Linked DNA regions of Homo sapiens: regions 2 and 3 are each linked to region 1. Evidence: promoter capture Hi-C in human tissues and cell types (Jung and others, 2019). All regions are on one chromosome and are shown on one strand. Each heading gives the region's core, a stretch centred on a gene start or on the middle of the fragment in contact. The rest is flanking DNA. Distances are from core to core; before and after follow the strand shown. Region 1 overlaps KIF1C (kinesin family member 1C). Region 2 holds the start of USP6 (ubiquitin specific peptidase 6). Region 3 holds the start of ZFP3 (ZFP3 zinc finger protein).

Region 1 (3,897 bases), core at 949-3,448:
CTGCACCAGGCCCACCTGCCTTCCTGCCACCCCTTAGGTCTCCCAGCTTCCTGCCCACACCTCGCTATGGCCATGTCTTTGCCTCTCTGCTGAGACCTCTCCAGCTGGAACCCCAGGCCCGCTGGACTTGAGCCTACTTTTTCCCCTGGCATCCCTGGGCCTCCTCCATGTCCCGGCTCCAGTCCATCTGTCCAAGCCCCCCTCCCAGGCTCTCTCCCAGACTCTGTACTTCCACTCAGCGGACCCCTGAGCACTCCCTCCAAAGTAGGCCTCCTGCATCCCTGACTGCCAATGTCCCCAACAACAGACCGCCTCCCGCCCCGCCCCCACCTGCCAAAATCATTCACTTCCTTCACGTTCCTCCCAGTCTGTCTGAAATGCAACTTCCTCCGGGAAGTTTTCCTAAGCCTTCCATCAGAACACAAGACCCCTGCCTCTGCTGCAGAAGGACTGACTGTGGCCTTTCTACCTCACCCTGGTGAAGCGCTAGGCGGGGTACAGAGATGAGTCAAGCCCAGGCACTGCTGTCCAGTCAGTCAGGAAATGAGAGTCAGCTAGGGGAGGTGAGGCTTGGCGTGGAAACACCATTACAAGTGGGAAACGGATGCCTCATGGAGGAGTTTCTGATTGTCTCATGCCCTTGTTTAAGTTCGTTTATTCATTCATTTGTTCCCAGGGGGTTGAGTGCCACTGTGTTCTGGGAGGGACTCACATGCAAAGAGGAACAAAGTGAAGAACTATGGGATTTCAAGGGGATCAGGAGGACTTAATGGAAGGGTAACATGGGAGCCAGCCTTTGAGGACAAGGAGGGCGTGGACATGCACAAGAGCGCTCCGGGTGAAAGCAGCCTGGACAGAAGCATGGAGGCAGAAAGCACAGGGTACAGAAGGGAAACAGCACGGAGTCGAACCTCTATTTCTCTGGGAGCCACTTAACACTCAGAGCCCAAAGCTGTGTCCCCCAGAGGTGTCTGTGTATCTTGTGCATCCGCCCTTCACCCAAGTGCTCCAAGGATCACTCCTGCGACACTTCTCCTGAGGGACTCCCATGCCCCTCCCTACACTGCAGTGTCAGGCCTGCTCTGGGACTGGCAAACGCTGATGGGCTCCGGAAGCAGAAAGCAATCTATCCCTGGGGAGAGGGAACACGATTTGAGGCGGTGCTTTTCAACTTTTTCTTCAGCCCTATAACTCTTTGTTCAAAATGAAACCTTCTCTAGAAGCCTAGGACATCAAGCAGATAAGCAAGAAGCTGCTCAGGCCCAGGCTGGGGGTGAGAGCCCCAGGGTCTGGTCCTGTCCCTATCCTCAGCCCCTGAGAAGGCAGCTCAGAACCAGGTTTGAACACCACTGATTTAAGCAATCCTTAGCCCTGGTGGTGGGGGTCTTAGCAAGAGGAGGCTCCCTCCAAGACAAACTGTAGTTTTTTCCTCTAAGACCCAACTATTCCCTGTTGGAGCTACTCACACCAAACCCATTTCCCCATGAGTCTAACAGTTCTCTCTTCTGGCTTTAGACCACATGGCTTTTAAACATGAGAAGAGTTCATCCTCACCACCTTGAGAAAAATGTAAAAGTGAACTACCTTAAGACACCTTCTCACCAATCACACAGGCAAAGAGAAAAGTCTTACTAAGCCAGAATGTGGGAAAGGGCGAGGGGAAATGGGCTCTCTTGTATGTTACCCTTGGGAGTATAAATTGGTATGGTTCAAAAAATTAGCCAGGAGTGGTGGTGGGCGCCTGTAGTCCCAGCTACTTGGGAGGCTGAGGCAGGAGAATGGCGTGAACCCGGGAGGCGGAGCTTGCAGTGGGCCGAGATTGCACCACTGCACTCCAGCCTGGGCAACACAGCAAGACTCCATCTCAAAAAAGTAAAATAAATTGGTATGGTTATAATCTTCAGAGGGCACTTTGGCAATATAGATTAAAAAAAAAATTTTTTTTTTTGAGACGGAGTCTCGCTCTGTCACCTGGGCTGGAGTGCAGTGGCATGATCTCGGCTCACTGCAAGCTCCGCCTCCCGGGTTCACGCCATTCTCCTGCCTCAGCCTCCCAAGTAGCTGGGACTACAGGTGCCCGCCACCACGCCCGGCTAATTTTTTCTATTTTAGTAGAGATGGGGTTTCACCTTGTTAGCCAGGATGGTCTCGATCTCCTGACCTCGTGATCCGCCCGCCTCGGCCTCCCAAAGTGCTGGGATTACAGGCGTGAGCCACCGCACCCGGCCTAGATTAAAATTTTACATGGCTACCATTTGACCCAAAATCTCCATTTCTAGGAATCTGCTCTACAGATAACACCCATTTGTAAGACTATGCATTGTAGCCTTTTTTTGTAGTATCAAGGAATGGGAAACAATCTGAATGTCCATCAGTGGGAAGCTGGTTAAATACATTATCCTACATCTACACAATAGAATACCCTGACACCGTGAAAAAAATAAAGGAAGCTTTAAAATAAGGTATGCAGGCCAAGCACAGTAGCTCACACCTGTAATACCAGCACTTCAGGAGGCCAAGGCCAGTGCATCATTTGAGGCCAGGAGTTTGAGACCAGCCTGGCCAACATGGCGAAACCCTGTCTCTACTAAAATACAAAAATTAGCCCGGCGTGGTGGTGGGTGCCTGTAATCCCAGCTACTTGGGAGGCTGAGGCATGAGAATCACTTGAACCTGGGAGGCAGAGTTTGCACTGAGCTGAGATTGTGCCACTGCACTCCAGCCTGGGCGACAGAGTGTGACTCTTGTCTCAAAATAAATAAATAAAATAGATATGCAACTACAACTATTAGAGAGGCCGTGAATGTGAGTAAATGTGTATAGTTCTATATAACATATGCCTGTACATGTGTTATAACATCTCCTAGACAGCATCTCTAGGAGAACATTTTTTCTTTTTTTTTTTTTTGAGACAGAGTCTTGTCTGTCACCCAGGCTGGAGTGCAGTGGTGCGATCTCAGCTCACTGCAACCTCTGCCTCCCGGGTTCATGTCATTCTACTGCCTCAGCCTCCCTAGTAGCTGGGACTACAGGCGCCCGCCAGCACACGTGGCTAATTTTTTGTATTTGTAGTAGAGACGGGGTTTCACTGTGTTAGCCAGGATGGTCTCAATCTCCTGACCTCGTGATCCACCCGCCTTGGCCTCCCAAAGTGCTAGGATTACAGGTGTGAGCCACCAGGCCCGACCCAAGGAGAATATAGTAAGAACCCATAATGGGCCTGGCACGGTGGCTCACACCTGTAACCCCAGCACTTTGGGACTCCGAAGTGGGTGGATCACGAGGTCAGAAGTTCAAGACCACTCCGGCCAACATAGTGAACCCCATCTCTACTAAAAATACAAAATATTAGCCGGGTGTGATGGTGTGCGCCTGTAATCCCAGCTACTTGGGAGGCTGAGGCAGAAGAATCGTATGAACCCAGGAGGCGGAGGTTGCAGTCAGCCAAGATTGCACCGTTGCACTCCAGCCCGGGTGACAGTACAAGACCCCGTCTCAAAAAAAAAAAGAACTCATAATGAAGGCTGCCTCTGAGGGGAAACTTAAGGGTGGGAAGGATGGAGAGTTACTTTTTTTTTTTTTCTATAACAAAATGCTGTAAATTGGAGACTTTTCACTGTACACACCTTTTAGAACTATTAGAATGTTCTCTCTGGTGTGTATTACCTTTATAAGAACAATTAAAACAAGAACCCCCTCCTTTGGTCCCCAGGCTTTGGCAGGTGGCATCTCTGCAAGCTCTCCAAGGAAGAAACCTCCACCCCACCAGTCTCCCCAGTCCTTTCTGCTTTTCCTCCATCCTTGCAACCGTGGTGGAAGCGGCCCAGCTCCAGGTATACAAAGGTGGCTGGAAGCCATGCTGAGCGCATCCGTAGCCCCTCTTTCCACCTAGGTGTG
Region 2 (3,897 bases), core at 501-3,000, 110 kb before region 1:
TGAGGCCACCATCATCTCTTGCTTGTACTATTATCGCAGCCTCCTAACATGCCTCCCTGATTCCAACGCTTCTCTACAGGGCAGCTGGAATGTTCTTCCTTCAGAACAAATCTGATAGTGCCATCCCCCTCTCTAAATTTCCACAGTGATTTCCCACTAACTTCAGCCTGAAGTCCAAAGTCCTTATTGTGACATATATATTCTGATGCGACCCCATTTATTCACTTGTGCTGTAAATATTTATTGAGCTTTTTTTTTTTTTTTTTGAGACGGAGTCTCGCTCTGTCGCCCAGGCTGGAGTGCAGTGGTGCAATCTCAGCTCACTGCAACCTTTGCCTCCCGGGTTCAAGTGATTCTCCTGCCTCAGCCTCCTGAGTAGCTGGGATTACAGGTGTGTGCCTCCACACCCGGCTAATTTTTGTATTTTTTGTAGAGAGGGGGTTTCACCATGTTGGTCAGGCTGGTCTCAAACTCCTGACCTCATGATCCACCCGCCTCGGCCTCCCAAAGTGCTGGGATTAGAGGCTTGAGCCCCCTCGCCCAGGCTTATCGAGCTTTTAATATGTGTTAAGCAGCGGGTGCTACAAAGCAGGGTGAGCATAAATGGACAAGTCTCTGGCCTGATGGAACTTATAATTGTAGAAGAGAAACTAATTAGAATCATTAATAAAGTTGCAACCATAAGTGCCAAAAAGGAGAGGCATATGATACTACAGTGGGGAGTCTCACCTAGCTGGGGAAGGCTTTCTGCAAAGTACTTACCTTTCCTTCCTATTATTTACCCATGAACTCTCTGCAGTTCCCCAAGAATGTAGGCACCGCCCTCTTGCCCTGTGGCCTTTCCACGAGCTGTTCCCTCTGTGAAGATTGCTCCCTCCGTACCTAGCTCCATCACTTTTCAGTACTTGCTATGTGTTGGGTACCGTGATAAGCACTTACCATCAATTTTCTCTTGTATTTACCTCAGTGAGTGCAACTGTTAACCCTGTTTTATACATAAGAAACTACGCTCTAGAAAGGCAAATTTGCCCAAAGACTCACAACTAGTAAGTGAAGAAACGAATTCAAATTCCGGTCGGCCCGACTCGAAAGCGGTCTTGGCGGTACAGTCTTGGGTCTCCCAGTTCCTTCCTGTTCAGGCCTCACGTATCTGCCCGCCTTTCCTGACAGACCCCTGGTGAGGGTCTAGTGCCTCCACGGGCCACGGCCATCGTAAGGCAGCAACTGTAACTTGTCGCCCGCCCCACTAGGCTGAGCTCTTCCCGGACAGGCACTGGCCTTTTCCCTTTCGTCGGCTCAGTGACTCCAGGTAGACGCCCCTCAGACACCACACGAGACGGCGGCTCACATGGGCCAGAAGTGTTTCCCCTCTCCCCCAGCGGCTTGTCTAGGAAAACATGAGGACTCGGTTCGACTCGATGGTGCGGGCCTAAGCCCCGGGAAGCCGGGAGTGGTGAGGCGGGCCGCCGGGAGCGGGGCCGGGAGTGGTGAGGGGGGCCGCCCGGAGCGGGGCCGGGAGTGGCGTCGAGCAGAGAGCCCGCAGGCGGGAAGTCCTCTCAATGAGCGTCTCGAGCGCTGCCCGCGGCCCCTCCTGACTGCTAGTTGGAGCGGGGACAGCATGGGCGCGGCCGCCAAGGTAGCGTCGAGTGAGGGGAAGACTGATGGGCGCCTGGAGACGAGCTCCCACAGCGGCCACGCATTTGGAGCTGGGCGTCGGGGCCCGCCCGTCCCGCCGCGCCGCTAGCTGTCCCCTCTGCCTGGCCTCCGTGCCTTGCGCCCCTTTGTGCCGTCCAGCCCTACAGCTTTGAGGCCCTTTCGGCGCACGCACCCCGCCCCGATCCCCCGGCGCTATCCCAGCCTTGACGGCCGGGGAGGCTTTCCCTAGCCCGGCGCCTCGAGGACCGCCTCAGTGGCCAAAGGCGGCGCGGGGTGCGCCCGGGCTGTGTCCCCGGGAGGCTGGACCGCCAGTCCGCGCATGAGGCCATCTGTGAGGCACGAGTGCAGGAGAGTGAAGGAGACCGGGGCGTGCTGAGTAGGGACCTCCCTCAGTGACTGGAAGGTTATTCATGGGGCCTTCTGACACTCTAAAAACGAAATTTCTCCGGGGTTTGATGAGTATCAGGGTGGTGGCTTCTTGAGTTTTGAGCAGGCATCACAAATCAATCCCTCTGGAATACAGAACTGCCTCTGTTCCGTTTTGGGTTTTGTGTGTGTGTGTGTGTGTGTTTTTGGAGACGGAGTCTTGCTCTGTTGCCCAAGCCGGAGTGCAGTGGCGCCATCTCGGCTCACTGTAACCTCCGCCTCCCGGGTTAAAGCTGTTGTCCCGCCTCAGCCTCCCGAGTAGCTGGGATTACAGGCGCCCCCCACCACGCCAGGCTAATTTTGTATTTTTAGTAGAGAGAGGGTTTCACCATGTTGGCCAGGCTGGTCTTGAACTCCTGACCTCAGGTGATCCACTGGCCTCGGCCTCGCAAAGTGCTGGAATTACAGGCACGACCCACCACATCCGGCCCTCTGTTCCTTGTTTCGAAATAACTCAATTAAAAGTCAGAGGCTCACTGGCCACATCTCCTTCCACCCACCCACCGCCCCACCCCCCAAAAGATGCCTCTAGCAAATAAAATGAGACGTCCTGATGCCTTCCTGGCTCGTTCCAGAATTTTTAGCTTTGACTTTTGACGTGGGGTCCTTCTACCTAAAGTCCCCGCCGTCACATCAGCCCCCAGTTTTCCTCTGTCTTAGCTCGGGCTGCCGTAACAAAATACCATAGACTGGATGCCAGACAACAGAAATTTATTTTCTCAGTTTTGGAGGCTGCAAGGCTGTGACCAGGGCCCAACATGGTCAGGTTCTGGTGAGAGCTCCCTGGCTGCCTTCTCACAGGGTCCTCACATGGCAGAGAGAGAGGGACCCAAAGCCCTCTGGTGTCTTTTTTGTTTGTTTGTTATTTTTTGGGACGGAGTCTCACACTGCTGCCAGGCTGGAGTGCAGTGGCCCGATCTCGGCTCACTGCAACCTCCACCTCCCAGGTTCAAGTAATTCTCCAGCCCCAGCCTCCCAATTAGCTGGGATTACAGGCACCCACCACCACACCCGGCTAATTTTTGTATTTTTAGTAGAGAGGGGCTTTCACCATGCTGGCCAGGCTGGTCTCGAACTCCTGAGCCCAGCTGATCCACCCGCCTCGGTTTCCCAAAGTGCTGGGATTACAGGCGTGAGCCACTGCGCCTGGCCAGAACTCAGTCCTTACAGAACATCAGAGAATCCATACAAGGTGAGAGAGAGGCCTTATAAATGCATTGGGTGTGGGAAAGATTTGAAGGGGAGCTCACAACTTATTCAGCATCAAAGAATTCACAGTGGAAAGAAACTTTGTGAATGCAATGAATGTTCAAAGACTTGTAATCAGAGCTCACACTTTATTCGACATCATAGAATTCATAGTGGAGAAAAGCCCTATGAATGTGACAAGCATGGGAAAGCCTTCAGATGGAGCTCAGACCTTGTGAGGCATCTGGAAATTCATATTGGAGATAAAGTTTTGGAATGTAGCGAGCGTGGAAGAATTTTCAATCAGAGCTCAGGTCTAATGCAGCACCAAAGAAACCATACAGAATCATAACCCTAGGAAGACAGTAATGATAAAGATGTCAGTATGTACATATAGGAAGAGAGAAGGAGAGTTTGTTTTTGTCCTAACTATTTGGAAAATTGTAAGCTTCCTAAGAGCAATTTTCATCTGATTCAGTGTATAGTACTTAGTCTCAGGTCATGTGCAGATATGTCCTTCCCAAATGCTTACCACAAGATAAATCAGAAATCTTGACTGGAATAAGCTTCTAGTTCCTTTGCTTTATCATGAGAGGTTCCACACCACAGGAAAATCTTGTAAATGGT
Region 3 (3,897 bases), core at 375-2,874, 68 kb before region 1:
ACTGGATTAATCAGTCCTGAAACCACGATACCTATTTTTTTTTTTTTCTTTGGAGATGGAGCCTCGCTCTGTCTCCCAGGCTGGAGTGCAATGGCGCAATCTTGGCTCACCGCAACCTCCGCCTCCCAGGCTCAGGCGATTCTCCCACCTCAGCCTCCCAAGCAGCTGGTATTACAGGCATCTGCCACCACGCCTGGCTAATTTTGTATTTCTAGTAGAGACAGGGTTTCACCATGTTGGCCAGGCTGGTCTCGAGCTCCTGACCTCAGGTGATCCGCCCACCTTTGCCTCCCAAAGTGCTGGGATTACAGGCATGAGCCATCACGCCCAGCTGACCCCCTCCATTTTCTTCCCTGACCCCCAGGCTCTAAGGCAGACAGCTACTCCTTCACCTTGTAGCAGCTACCCCACTGCATTATTAATTTTTCATACCTATTTTCTTCTCTAGACCATAAGCAAGGATGCTGTTCCATTCATCCTGGTATTCTGAGTACCTAGCATATTTCAGATACCTGGTAAATGTTAAGTGAATTTGTGTAACTGTCTTATATATATAATGAATCTGCAATACCTCCCTTTTTTCTGAGACAGGGTCTTGGCTCTATTGCCCAGACTCACTGCAGCTTCAACTTCCCAGGCTCAAGAAAATCCTCCCACCTCAGCCTCCCAAGTAGCTGGGACTACAAGCATGCGCCACCACACCCAACTACCCAACTAATTTCTTTGTTTTTTGTACAGATGGTGTCTCACTATGTTGCCCAGGCTGGTCTTGAACTCCTGTGCTCAAGTGATCCTCCCGCCTAGGCCTCCCAAAATGCTGGGATTACAGGCATGAGCCACTGCACCCAGCCTCTGTAATACTCTTGATGGCTAACTGGATATTTCATTCATCATTATATCTAAAGAGCCTAGGATAGTGTCTGACACATAGCTGGTGTCGATAACTGTTTGTAAAAATAAGTTCCTTTTCCCAATCTGGGTGATATTTAATTTATGGCACTGTTAACCTCCTTTCCTCTCTTCTCCCTCTGACCCACAATAGGGCTCTATCTTTGCAGCTCAAACCTGTCTCCTTTTCACGACCACCCCTCATAAGCCAATATCTTGTCTGGCAGCACAGGGCACAATCTGCCACTAGGGCGTTAAGTTTGTGACACTGCCCGCCATTTCGTCCTAGCGGTTTACTTGGGGGTGGAATGTCTGAGAAAACCACAGCTCCCACGGGTCCCCACCTCGGTACAGAAGGGAGTGTCCCTGCTTCTCCCACCCCCACGGCTGACAGGCACCAAACCAGAGCTGGGACTGTCCCTGGCGGTGTCCAGGCCCCACCCTCTCTGTGTGCAGGTGGAAATGAAGGCCTGGGGGCGGGGGGAATGGAGGGAGGCATAAACTTCAAGGTCACACAGCGAACCCCGGTCAGAACGGGCCTAAACGTAGGGTTTCCGCTCGGCTCTCTAGGGAGCTGGGAGCCCAGCCCCCGCCTACCCCCACAGCCGCGACGGAATGAGGTCTCACCGCAGGCCGCTACTGCCCCGCGCTCGCTCACTCCGCTGAGGCTCCGCGCTGCTGGGCCGCTCGCACAGAGCCCGCAGCTGTTGTCCCGGTGTCACTGGCGACGGGCATCGGCCACTTCCGGTACCCGGGCGGCACTCCAGCCAATCGGCGCGCGTCGCACTCCGCTGGAGGAACAGGTGGTCAGCGCACCGACGCCCCCTTGCCTTTTCCGGCTTGCTTTTCGCCGGTTCTAGCCCTAGCCCAAGTTCCACGTCGCCGCCGCCTGCCGAGCCGGCTCCCTGGAACAGCAAAGTGCACCCGTCGATGCCCACTTCAGCCCCGGAATCATTGACGACCTGAGTCCTCCGGGTTTCCTAGAACGGCTCCGGGGATGAACTTCCGCTCCGCGATCTGCCGCTCTGCGCCCTCGTGTCGCTCCCCAAGCATTGCTCTAGGCTCAAGAACTCGAGAATCCGCTTCGCATTCCCGCGGGGACCGTTTGCGCGACCCTTTTAACTCTCCCAACCCGCATCGTTCTTATCCCATCCTTCCTTTCCACAGACTCCGTGGGTCTGATAAGCACAGGGCTGCAGATCCTGGGAACAGGTCTCTCCTCGGCGGGAGCGAAGGGAGACATGCTTTGAGTTCCGGAAGGGCTTGCAGGAGTGACGTTTGGCCTGAAATCTCAAGATTGCGTGGGAATTACCAAGGTTAAGAGTAAAGGCCTAGGTTAAGCTGCCGAGGCCACGGAAACAGCATTCTGCAGCTAGCCTTCCTGGGTTCCCTGAGCAAGCTTGGCCCATTCTCACCTCAGAACCTTTCCTTGTTACTTCCTCTGTAATTTTGCACAGCCAGCTTGTTTTCTTGTTTGTTTGTTTTTTGAGATGGAGTTTCGCTCTTGTTGTCCAGGCTGGAGTGCGATGGCGCCATCTCCGCTCACCGCAACCTCCGCCTCCCGGATTCAAGCGATTCTCCTACTTCAGCCTCCCCGAGTAACTGGGATTACAAGCATGTGCCACCACGCCCGGCTAATTTTGTATTTTAGGTAGAGACGGGTTTTCTCCATTTTGGTCAGGCTGGTCTCGAACTCCCGACCTCAGGTGATCCGGCCGCCTCGGCCTCCCAAAGTGCTGGGATTACAGACATGAGCCACCGCGCCCGGCCTCCAGCTTGTTTTTGTTTGTTTTTTGAGGCGGAGTTTCGCTCTTGTCGCCAAGGCTGGAGTGCAATGGCACGATCTCTGCTCACTGCAACCTCCACCTCCCGGGTTCAAGCGATTCTCCAGCCTCAGCCTCCAGAGTAGCTGGGATTACAAGTGCCAGCCACCACGCCCGGCTAATTTTTGTATTTTTAGTAGAGACGGGGTTTCACCATGTTGGTCAGGCTGGTCTCGAACTTCTGACCTTAGGTCAGACCTTAGGCCCACCTTGGCCTCCCAAAGTGCTGGGATTACAGGCGTGAGCTACCGCGTCCAGCCAGCCAGTTTGTTTTTAGGTGTCAGTTCCAAGATCACCACATTGAAGACTTTCATTCTATATAATGTTGCCTCAGAGTACACTATCCTTCCCAAATATCAGTTACAAAGGACTATGATTAGCCCTGTTTGGGTCTGGTGCTCAACCATGGACCAATCAAGGGGGAAAGGACCGTGTGATTTACCAAGCCTGGTCACCTGCCTTCCCGCAAGGATGACGGCGGGCTTCTGTGTTTGCCTCACCATAATCCTATGAAATAGGGAAAGGAGTGACCACCCTTAGAAGGGAATATTGTGTTTGTATGCCACACACAATCTAGCAGAAAGAAAACTTTCTCTTGAATTCATCATTGCCATTAGGCCCTAGACTCTAGGGTCCATCACTTTAGCCACTCTGGTACTAAAATCCTTAACTCCCTTGCCCTACTGTCTGCAACTGCATGGGAAGTTTGTTAACTCTGATTCAATCAGAATATCTATTTTCCGGCCGGGCGTGGTGGCTCATGCATGTGATCCCAGTACTTTGGGAGGCTGAGGCAGACAGATCACAAGGTCAGGAGTTCGAAACCAGCCTGGCCAAAATGGTGAAACCCATCTCTATTAAAAGTACAAAAATTAGGGCCAGGTGCGGTGGCTCACACCTGTAATCCCAGCACTTTGGGAGGCGAAGGCGGGAGGATCACAAGGTCAGGAGTTCGAGACCAGCCTGGCCAATATGGTGAAACCCTGTCTCTACTAAAAATACAAAAATTAGCCAGGCATGGTGGTGCATGCCTGTAGTCCCAGCTACTCGAGAGGCTGAGGCAGAAGAATCACCTGAACCTGGGAGGCGGAGGTTACAGTGAGCTGAGATCACGCCACTGCACTCTCGCCTGGGCGACAGAGTAAGACTCCATCTCAAAAAAAAAAAAAAAAAACTACAAAAATTA

Evidence for each region. The method cuts DNA at HindIII sites, captures the fragments that hold promoters and counts their contacts. A contact is called where the count stands out against the background at its distance.
Region 2: a contact is called between the fragment with the promoter of USP6 here and a fragment that was not itself captured in region 1, in 2 of the 25 tissues and cell types used here (H1 embryonic stem cells and lymphoblastoid cells).
Region 3: a contact is called between the fragment with the promoter of ZFP3 here and a fragment that was not itself captured in region 1, in 6 of the 25 tissues and cell types used here (dorsolateral prefrontal cortex, lymphoblastoid cells, mesendoderm cells and 3 more).

Annotation. Positions count from the first base shown.
Region 1 is chr17:5,008,798-5,012,694 of GRCh38, reverse strand. The region is part of intron 16 of KIF1C (kinesin family member 1C); the gene reads right to left. Among named protein-coding and RNA genes, the nearest start is that of KIF1C-AS1, 9.3 kb to the left of the region's middle. RefSeq lists a silencer at 399-458. The HindIII fragment of the contact is 9,299 bases long and covers 1-3,897 here.
Region 2 is chr17:5,113,885-5,117,781 of GRCh38, reverse strand. USP6 (ubiquitin specific peptidase 6) reads right to left here and starts at 1,750. Exons shown (of 38, transcript NM_001304284.2): 1 at 1,042-1,750. ZNF232-AS1 (ZNF232 antisense RNA 1) reads right to left here. Exons shown (of 3, transcript NR_135658.1): 3 at 3,400-3,624. It also overlaps a transcript of ZNF232 not described here. The HindIII fragment of the contact is 4,107 bases long and covers 1,065-3,897 here.
Region 3 is chr17:5,076,194-5,080,090 of GRCh38, reverse strand. ZFP3 (ZFP3 zinc finger protein) reads right to left here and starts at 1,624. Exons shown (of 2, transcript NM_153018.3): 1 at 1,516-1,624. ZFP3-DT (ZFP3 divergent transcript) reads left to right here and starts at 1,978. Exons shown (of 2, transcript NR_186458.1): 1 at 1,978-2,204. RefSeq lists enhancers at 1,848-1,917, 1,285-2,156. The HindIII fragment of the contact is 17,416 bases long and covers 1-3,897 here.